2 separate regions of the Homo sapiens genome follow, and region 1 is linked to region 2. The links are contacts of gene promoters, found by promoter capture Hi-C in human tissues and cell types (Jung and others, 2019). All regions are on one chromosome and are shown on one strand. Each heading gives the region's core, a stretch centred on a gene start or on the middle of the fragment in contact. The rest is flanking DNA. Distances are from core to core; before and after follow the strand shown.

What was found. The method cuts DNA at HindIII sites, captures the fragments that hold promoters and counts their contacts. A contact is called where the count stands out against the background at its distance.
Region 1: a contact is called between a fragment that was not itself captured here and the fragment with the promoter of FAM20A in region 2, in 2 of the 25 tissues and cell types used here (neural progenitor cells and thymus).

The regions. Positions count from the first base shown.
Region 1 is chr17:68,643,681-68,648,982 of GRCh38, forward strand. All of the region lies in intron 2 of LINC01482 (long intergenic non-protein coding RNA 1482), which reads left to right. Among named protein-coding and RNA genes, the nearest start is that of LINC01482, 18 kb to the left of the region's middle. The HindIII fragment of the contact is 6,803 bases long and covers 1-5,125 here.
Region 2 is chr17:68,599,880-68,604,563 of GRCh38, forward strand. It overlaps FAM20A (FAM20A golgi associated secretory pathway pseudokinase), which reads right to left and starts at 1,488. Exons shown (of 11, transcript NM_017565.4): 1 at 384-1,488. The coding sequence starts at 787. The HindIII fragment of the contact is 4,098 bases long and covers 1-2,008 here.

The DNA of each region.
Region 1 (5,302 bases), core at 474-2,973, 44 kb after region 2:
ATAATAACAATCATATAAAAAGAGTCAATTTTCTGAAAATTTCCTCATTTTAGTTATCTTTAAGTAGGTCTTTTCTTTGTCCTTATTTCTGAGCATGGAAAAAACCCCAGAGGCAAAGACCATTAGTCAACTGATCTTAAGGACCAGCAGACAAAGCTTCTGATGTAAATTTGCCATCATTCCCTTCACCTCAGAAGTTATGTCTCTAACATATCTTATGTTGAGTGTGCTGACTTAGCAAACCTGATGCCCTAGTTTTAATACACAAGACTTGCAGCATGACCACCAGGAAAATGTTTCCAAATGCTTGTTGTGGAAAGAGTAGTTAGTCTGCACCTGTCAACATCGCAACTGGATTCGTCTCAAAATGCAAGACACATGGTTCGGAAGCTGGCAAAGGAAAGGATATTTTCACCCTAAAAACACAGCTCATTTCCATTAATTGAGTCTGAATAGTCACAAGTTGCAAAGCTCCAGACAGGTTTTCACAAGCCCAAGAGCAGGGACTGACAATATTTACAGCGCTCTAAGCTGAATCGTATTACTAGGAAGTTCATAAACATGGAGGATGCCTGCTCTGCTGTCACTTGTGTGATATCTGGGCTTCTGCTATGATTTTCTGGGCTCCTTTAATCCAGGACCTATGGTTGGGAATGACAAACATCTACCAGTTTCTGAGTTCCAACTCATGTTGGTTGCTATTATGCCACCCAGGTCACTCTCTTGGGAGGTCTCCATGGAGCTCCTCTTTCCATCTCTAGACACTCTCTCAATCCTTGCATGTTTCTCTCATCCTTTCTCTCAGCTTTGCTTTTTTCCCATCTAGTTTCCTCTTCAACAAAACAAAATAAACATCACAGAAATGAACCGATGTCATCCAGTTTGGCAGAAGTTTTGTCTTTATGGGGTATTATAATATTTACCTCTTTCCAAACTTCTTGATATTGAAGTTTCCTCTGACTTCTGTAGGTTCCTCTCTTAGGACTCTATAGAGTCGGGAATTTTAGTCGTTCTTCCACTTACGTCACCAGAGGATGAACATATCTGTTTTTATATGTTGCACAAGGATAGCATAAGAGACAAATGAAGTGTTGTTTCACTTCATGAACAACAAAAGAAAGATAAATAAAGTAGGAACTTTTGTTTTTAGGCAATGATGTGAATGAATTTAAATTCATATTGATTATATAAGCAATAATAATAACACATCGTGGGATTTAAAATATATTTAGATTTAAAATGTAGGCTAATTTAAACATAAATAAGAATGGGGCTGAATGGAGTTAAAGGGTTCCAAGGTCTTTGTCTGGAGAGTAGGTAAAGACACCAATTAATGTTCTGCTTTGATAAGCCAAGGATGCATGTTATAATTTCCAGGTAGCACTAAAAGAATGGTTAATGCACGTACAACTTTCATGCTAATAGAGAAAAGATGTAATAATAAAGAAATCAATTCGAAACAAGATGAGAAAAGACAAAAAAGGAACAAAGAACAGATGGAACAAATAGAAAACACATGATAGATGGTATTTTATCTGCTTGATGACATACTTACTACTGAATTATGTCCCCTTCTCTTCCCCAAATTCATATATTGAAATTCTAACCTCCAATACCTAAGAATGTGACCGTTATTTGGAAATAGTGCCTTTATAGAAGTAATCAAGGTTAAATGTGATCATTAAGGTAAATGTGATCCAAAATGACTGGTCTCTCTATAAGAAGAGAATATTAGGATACAGAGACACAGAGCAGAGATCATGTGCAGACAGAGGGAAAAGATAGCCATTTACAAGTCAGGGAGAGATGCCTCAGAAGAAGCCAGCCCAGCTGATGCCTTGATTTGGACTTCTAGCCTCCAGAACTATGAGAAAACAAGTATGTATTGTTTAAGCTGTCAGGTCTGTGGTATTTTGTTGTGGCAGCCCTAGCAAACTAATACAGCTTCCTAGACATATCAGTATTTATGTCAAATGCAAATGGACTATATGGTCAAATTAAAAGGCTCAAATTGCAATGAAAGAAGACCCTTGTTGGTTACAAGAGACATATCAAGAACACAAGAATGTGGAAAGATTAGAATAAAAAGGTGAAAAAAAAAGATAACACTATGAAAACTCTAACCAAAAGAAATTTGATGTAGCTATGTTAAGATTAAAAATGCTGTTTTTAATGCAAAAAGACTGGTAGAGATAAAGAGGAATTTCATAATGCCAGAAGGATCAATTTACCAAGAAGGTATAAAAATTCTCAATTTGTATAGATCCAGTAATATGGAATCAAAAAGGCAGAAATGAATAGAGTCACAGTCATACTGACAGATTTTTATCACACTTGTCAGTGGCTGATAAAATAAGTAGATATAAAACAGCAATAATACACAAAACTTGAATAATGCAATCAACAAATTTTACCTAAGGACATGTAGAGAATATTGCAGCCAACAACTGGAGAATACTTACTAATTTCAAGCACAATAAAAATTGGCTATATGCTGAAACGTAAAGGAAGTCTCACCAGATTTCATGATGCAAATTATATAGTGTTTGATTTCTAAACACATTTAATAAAGTTGAAAATCAGTAACAACAAATGGTCCTGGAGTAACTAGGCATCTATATGCAAAAAGTGAACTTCAACCTGTACGTTGTACATAAGAATGAACTCAAAATAGATTTTAGATCTAAATGAAAAAGCTAACATTATAAAAAAATTAGAAAAAAAAACAGAGGAGAAAAGTCTTCATGTCTTCATGGCCTTTGGAGAAGAAAAGATTTCTTACACAGATCACAAAAAGGCACTAATCATAAAAATTAGTCATAATAATTGGACTTCATTGAATTTAAAACTTTGCTTTTCGAAAGACACTGTTAAGAATCAAAGAAGCAAGCCACAGACTCAGATGAAATATTTGCAATACTCATATATGACAAATGATTTGTGTCCAGAATGTATAAGTAACTCTTGCAGCTGAATGGTAAGAGGATAACAAAAACTCAATAAAAAATGAGCAAAAGATTTGAATGCATACTTCACAAAAGATATCTTAATGGCCAAGAAGCACATGGAATGATGCCGAACATTATTAGTCATAAGATAAATACAAATTACAACCACTAAGATGGTCAAAATGTAAAAGGTTAGCAGTAGCCTGTGTTAGTGAAGATGCAGAAAAACTATAACCAGGCTGAGAGTGCTGGCTCACACCTGTAATCCCAGCACTTTGGGAGGCTGAGGTGTATGGATCACCTGAGGTCAGCAGTTGGAGACCAGCCTGTGTATGGATCACCTGAGGTCAGCAGTTGGAGACCAGCCTGACCAACATGGTGAAACCCTGTCTCTACTAAGTACAAAAAACTGGCCCAGCATGGTGGCACATGCCTGTAATCCCAGGTACTTGAGGCTGTGGCAGTGCTCATCACACAGTTTCCCACACGGGGCACCAACTGTGGCAGTGCACCTCTTATGGGGGCGCCAGCTGCGGGGAGGGGTCTGTCCGTTGCAGACCCCTGACCCGGTGACGGATGAATAACGTACACTGACACACAGATATTCTGCTTTGCCTGTCCAGCTGAGTGTGTCTCAGCCGCTTACAGACTCCCTGCTGAGTCCTGTAAACAGTCGTGACTTGGCCCTGATCAGCTAGCGAGACTCACATTTATTTGGTAAGATTAATTAATAAAGGCTTGAGCTAACACCATTAAAGGGTAATTGACATTGTGGACTTCCTGAGTAAAAAGCACTTAAGTACCTGTGGTACAATAAAGGTTAGTCTTAAGATCATATGAGTAAACAAGCTAGCTAGGTAAACTACTCTGCCTTCCTTTGTTACTACTTTAATTTTGTTTAACTAAAGATAAAGGGACCAGGCCACCTTCAGCCAGATCTATTATAGAAGTTATGCAAACTTCTCGGCCTTCCAAGAAGATTTGTGTCTATCTCTACACTATCTCTAATATTTTTCCCACCAGCCTGATTGAACCCCAACCAGAGGCTGAGGCAGGAGAATCACTTGAACCCAAGAGGCAGAGGTTGCAGTGAGCCGAGATTGCACCATTGCACTCCAGCCTGGGCAACAAGAGCAAAACTCCATCTCAAAAAAAAAAAGAAAAGAAAAACTAGAACCTCATTTATTACTACTGAGAACTGTAGAACTGCAAAGTGGTTCTAAAGTTGTAGAACCACTTTAGAAAAAATTGGGCGATTTCTTGTAAAGTTAACACATTCACTGTATGATTCAGAAATTTCATTACTATGTTGTATGTAAGAAATGAAAACACATGTCTACAAAAGAATTATATATAAATGTTTATTGTAGTTTTATTTGTAATAACAAAAAGCTGGAGACAATTCAGATATTCATCAAACAGTGAATGGATAAACAAATCGTGATATATTCATTCAATGGAACACTTCTTCAGCAATAAAAAGCAAAAAGCTACTGATACATGCAACATCATGGCTATGTCTCAAAATCATTACGATGATGAAAGAGGGTAGAGTAAATAATATGTGATTCTATCTATACAAAATTGTACAGCAAACAAAACTAGTTTGCAATGACAGAAAGCAGTTTAGTGGTTGTGGTTAAAGGTAGAGTTGGAGAACTTTTTTTGGAGTGAAAATGTATGTTCAATATATTAATTGTGGTCATGGTTACACTAATGTTTATGTTTTTCAAAACTCACAAAACTGTATTATGTATAAATGCATATAATATATTGTATGTAAATTTGAACCTAAATTAAATTGATTTAAAAAGAAAAAATCAATAAAAATATTAAGAAATACACTTCTAAATAAACCGTGAGGCACAGAGTCAATTATAATGGAAACAAAAAAAATTTGAATTGAATGATATTAAAAATATTAGATGTCAAAACTTCCTGTTAAACAAGTACTTAGTGGGAAATGCCTTAAGTACATATATTGAAAAAGAAAAAAAAGTGTTGAAAATTAATTACCAAAGTGATACGGTTTGGCTCTGTGTCCCCACCCAAATCTCATCTTGAATTGTAATCCCCACATGTCTAGGGAGGGACCTGGTTGGAGGTGACTGGAACATGTGTGTGGTTTCCCCCATGCTGTCCTCATGATAGTGAGTGAGTTCTCATGAGATCTGGTTGTTTGATAAGTGTCTAGCACTTCCCCCTTCTTTTTCTCTCTCTCTTGCCACCATGTAAGACATGCCTTGCTTCCCCTTCTTCCATGATTGTAAGTTTCCTGAGACCTCCTCAGCCACGTGGAATGTGAATCAGTTAAATCCCTTTTGTTTATAAATTACCCAGTCTTGGATAGTTCT
Region 2 (4,684 bases), core at 238-2,737:
AAGTCCAGCGGCAGCTTTCCTCCACATCAGGACAGAGAGTGGGGTTTGGGAGCGGACGAGGGAGCGGGAGTGGACGAGGGAGCAGGAGTGGGGCTCAACGACGACCCAGGCGCTCAAGGGGAAGGGGCTGAGAGCGTTTCTTCGCTGTGCGGCTGCAATAGAAACTTTTTCCTCGTACTATCTGACTCCGGGACTGGACTGTGAGGTCTGCAACAGCTGGTGGGGTTCGGGTGGGGAACACACTCTAAGCCCAGCGCCAGGGCTGGAGCCGTGGGTGGAGCCGCTGCAGCCCTGGGCCGGGGGCGTCAGGAAACTCGAGACTGGGGCGCGGGGAGGCCCCGGCCAGAGCGCCCGCTCTCCCGCGTCCCGGGCGGGGTCCTCACCTGTTCCAGCGGGCCACCTTCCTCCGGTAATACCGCAGCGCCTCCTGGCTGGCCAGGAGCGAGTCCTCGGCTCCCAGGAGAGGCGGCTCCTCCGGGACGTTGTACAGCGGGTGGGCGAAGAGGGCCTGCAACTTGGAGCTCGACCCGCTGTGGCTGCCGCCAGCCGGTTCAGTCCGGGGCTCGGTTCGGGAAAAGTTGTGCACGATCGTGCCGGGGTCCGAGGCAGCTGCGGCCGAGTCCCGCGCCAGGGAGGAGGCGCGGCCGGTGCACGGGCACCCCCGCGGGCGCTCCCGAGGCCGCAGCTGGCGCTGTACTTGGGGCCAGAGGTGGAAGTAGAGGTCGGCGGAGAGCAGCGCGCCCAGCAGCAGCAGAGTCAGTAGGCGGTCCCGGCGCAGCCCCGGCATGGCGTGCTGGCCAAGGGGGACGCCGGGGGCAGGCCGGCTGTCTCCGGGGTCCCGGGAGGGGTCGCGGGGTGCGGGCAGAAGAGGTGCCTGGAGTCCCGCGGGTGGGCCGGGGTCAGTGAGACCGGAATGCTCCCCGCGCGGGCTAGTCCCCTGTGGAGGGGTGTCGCTCCTCAACTTGGGGACCAGGTGCACGGAGCACCGGGGCTCTCGGAGTCAGCGGGCGTCGCTTCTCCGCGCCGAGTGAGCCGAGGGAATGGGGTTCCCGGGGTGCCCGCTTCTTGCGCCTTTTCTCCCGTGCGCCCGCCCGCCCGGACGCTCGCGGCAGGTGAAGGGCCCCGGGGCGCCGGCGCCGGCTGCCACCGCGGGCGGACGGGCGACGGGGCGGGGGGCGACCGCGGAGGGCGGACGGAGGCCGCCGGCTGCAAAGCCCGGGGCGTCTCTCCTGAGGATGCTGTCGCTCGGCGGCGGCTGCTAGTGCTCCCGCGACTCCTCCTGCGGGCGGCGGAGACGCCAGTGCCGGCGGCTGGCACGGGCGGCGCGAGTGGGGAGTTGGCGAAGCAGGAGCGGCTCCGGGGAGCTTGTCTGTGCGCCTGGACTCCTAGAGGCAGAGGTAGCGCGGGGCCTCCCCGAGCCTGGCCTGGCGCCGGCACCCCCACCCACTCTCCGCTGGCACCTGCCTCTGGCGCAGCTGACGGCCAACTCCCGATCCGAAGCCGGCGCTGCCCTTGCACCTTGTCACCCACCCACTGCCTGCGCCCTCCCCCTCGCTCGGGCCTCCCACTTTCCCTGCCCAGGTCTCAATCCAGTCACTTTAAGGGACTCACGCGAGGGGTCCGAAGCCTCTTTTTACCATTTCTATTATTTTTAGGGAAAAAAAAACCACCACAAGCCCCCTAAAACCCTTTTTTTCCTGTAAGCTTTGCCAAATGAGTGTGTGGGGGGGGGTGGGGGGAGGCGGGGGTGGCAGTGTTGGTATCTGTTCTTTCTTTGTGTTCCCTTCCACCTCCGCCCCCCTGCAGAGCGCAGGGCACATCAAGATTCATAACAACTACCTACCACATGCCTGGCACATAGTAGGTGCTCAGGAAACACGCTCTTGGTGAAGGAAAGAGCTTGACCTTTAAAAGTAAGGTATCAGTTTTACCTAGAATCTTGCTGATTTCCTGTTTGGAAGGAGTTTGATTCCAACTCTGCCTGTACTTTAAAAAGAGGAAATGTTTCTTGCACTCAGGGAGGGAGGGGCCCTGATGACCCCACTCCGAACTTTTGAGTTTAGCTTGGTGTGAAAGTAGTCCACCCAAATGAATCACTGGAGGACACATTTAGGCTTTCTCCAATATTCTGTGAGGTAATGTACCCTCCCCACACCCAGTTTTCCTTTTGAAGAAGAGGGAGGGAGTCCTGAACTCCTGGCTCCTCTATTTAATGACCCCATAGTATAGTAAAGTGAAGTCTGATTGGAGAGGCGGCCCCACCCTGCTGAATTTCAGGAAATCCACCAGAAGCTGCTTGCCCAGGCAGCAAAGCTTCCCATGTAAGTTAGTTCTACTCTTTAACCCCCTCCCTTCCCTTGCTGGAATTGAGAACCCTCAGACATACTTTGACTTGTGGGTTCAGACCAGAGTTCTTTTCCCCGTGGTTCAGTGTAAGATTTCTTCGGGACTTTGCAGTCTCCTCAAATGTAAATGAAGATAATGATGGAACCTACCTCCTAAGGTTATTATGAGACTTAAATGAATTGAAGTACAATTATGTGTCACGTCTGAGAAATGCATCCTTAGGCAATTTTCCTGTGTGTGTGAACATCAGGGTGTACTTACACAAACCTAGATGGTTCAGCCTACTACACACGGAGGCTACATGGCATAGCCTGTTGATCCTAGGTACAAACCTGTACAGCATGCGACTACTGAATGCTGTAGGGAGTTGTAACACAGTGGTGAGTACTTGTGTGTCTAAACATAGGAAACATACAGTAAAAATACAGTATTGTAATCTTATGGGACCACTGTTGCATTGACTAAAATGTTATGTGGCACTTGACTATGTATAAATTACTTAGAAGAGCTCCTAACTCATCCTAAATAAGTGTGAAATATGTGTTTGCTATCATTATGATTACTTATTAGTTCCTGTAGTACACTAGGCTTGGTTAGAGACTGCTCATCGCTAGGACAAAAATAGAAAAGGATGGAAAAGGAAGATAGCAGGAAGGAACCTGCTTTCAGGGGCATAACATTGTGGCCTGAGTGCCCAGTCCAAGTGAAAAAGCCCAAGACGGTACTATTCCCAGCTACTCCACTCCTCTGGGTATGATGGTGGGCATTTTGAGGGGTTCTAGAACCTCCTCCTTTTTATCTGGAATTAAATTTTAACTGATTTCCAATTTCTGAGAGACGTTGCAACTTCTAATGTGTTTAATTAGATGTCATGGCAAGCGAATGAAGAAGTCAGGCATTGAATGGTGGTGATGTAACTGCAGTAACTGTGTGGCAAACTGATGCGCATTTTTCTCGGCTGGCAAAGGACGTGGATGTGGTGACACTGCAGGTCTTGTGACTTCAATTCTCCTCAACCCATGGGGTCATACTCGCTTAGTAGACTCTTTTTTTTCTGGCCCCAATTTAGGGAACAATAGTGTAACTTGCTTGGAAATTATGTAAACATATTTTCCATGCCCTTTAAAGGTCACAGTCAAGTGCAGAACTGCATGTGGGAGTTAGATATTAAGTGTGAATGAAGCTGGATAGGAGAGTGGAAATCCTACCAGTAGGATTGGCCAATAGGATGTTGGCTTCCTCAGGTTTGCCTCTAATCTACCTTTACCCCTCCTAGAAATGAGCCTTCTCCTGCTCCTCCGATCTTCCATGTCTTGGGCCCTGGCTTACTTGCCAGCCTCACATACATCCTCTCCGTTCACACTGAAGGTATCCTAAATTGCTGTTTGCTGGGACCCATCATTCTGTTTAAAATCTTTCATTGGAAGCCCCTCCCTCCTTTTCCATCTCTACTGATCTTGATGTATCTAGAGCCTCATAATCTCTTGCTCATACTTGCAAATAGGCTTCTAACTGGTCCCTCTGCTTCCATGGTACCTTAGTTCAGTGCCCACACACACTCTTGCCAGAGTGAGACTTCTAGTATGCAGAGGCAACCAGGATATTCTCCTCCTGAAAACCCCCTGAGCTTCTCCTTGTTGCTGGATTAGGTCACTCATTGTGACACAGCTCTTCGTGGTCTGGCTTCTACCTCCTTTCTTCTTTATATGCCCCCTCTTTCGTCTTCACCCCACAAGACTTTCTGCAATTCCCAAGTGCTCCAACCTTGTAGGGGTGGGTTGCCCCTCCACACCTGTGGGTGTTTCTCATAAGGTGGAACGAGAGACTTAGGAAAGAAAAAGACACAGAGACAAAGTATAGAGAAAGAAATAAGGGGACCCGGGGAACCAGCATTCAGCATATGGAGGATCCCCCCAGCCTCTGAGTTCCCTTAGTATTTATTGATCATTTGTGGGTGTTTCTCGAAGAGGGGGATGTGTCAGGGTCACAAGACAATTGTGGGGAGAGGGTCAGCAGACAAACACGTTAACAAAGGTCTTTGCATCATAGACAATGTAAAGGATTAAGTGCTGTGCTTTTAGATATGCATACACATAAACATCTCAATGCTTTACAAAGCAGTATTGCTGCCTGCAGGTCCCACCTCCAGCCCTAAGGCGGTTTTTCCCTATCTCAGTAGATGGAGCATACAATCGGGTTTTATACCGAGACATTCCATTGCCCAGGGACAGGCAGGAGACAGATGCCTTCCTCTTGTCTCAACTGCAAGAGACATTCCTTCCTCTTTTACTAATCCTCCTCAGCACAGACCCTTTACGGGTGTCGGGCTGGGGGACGG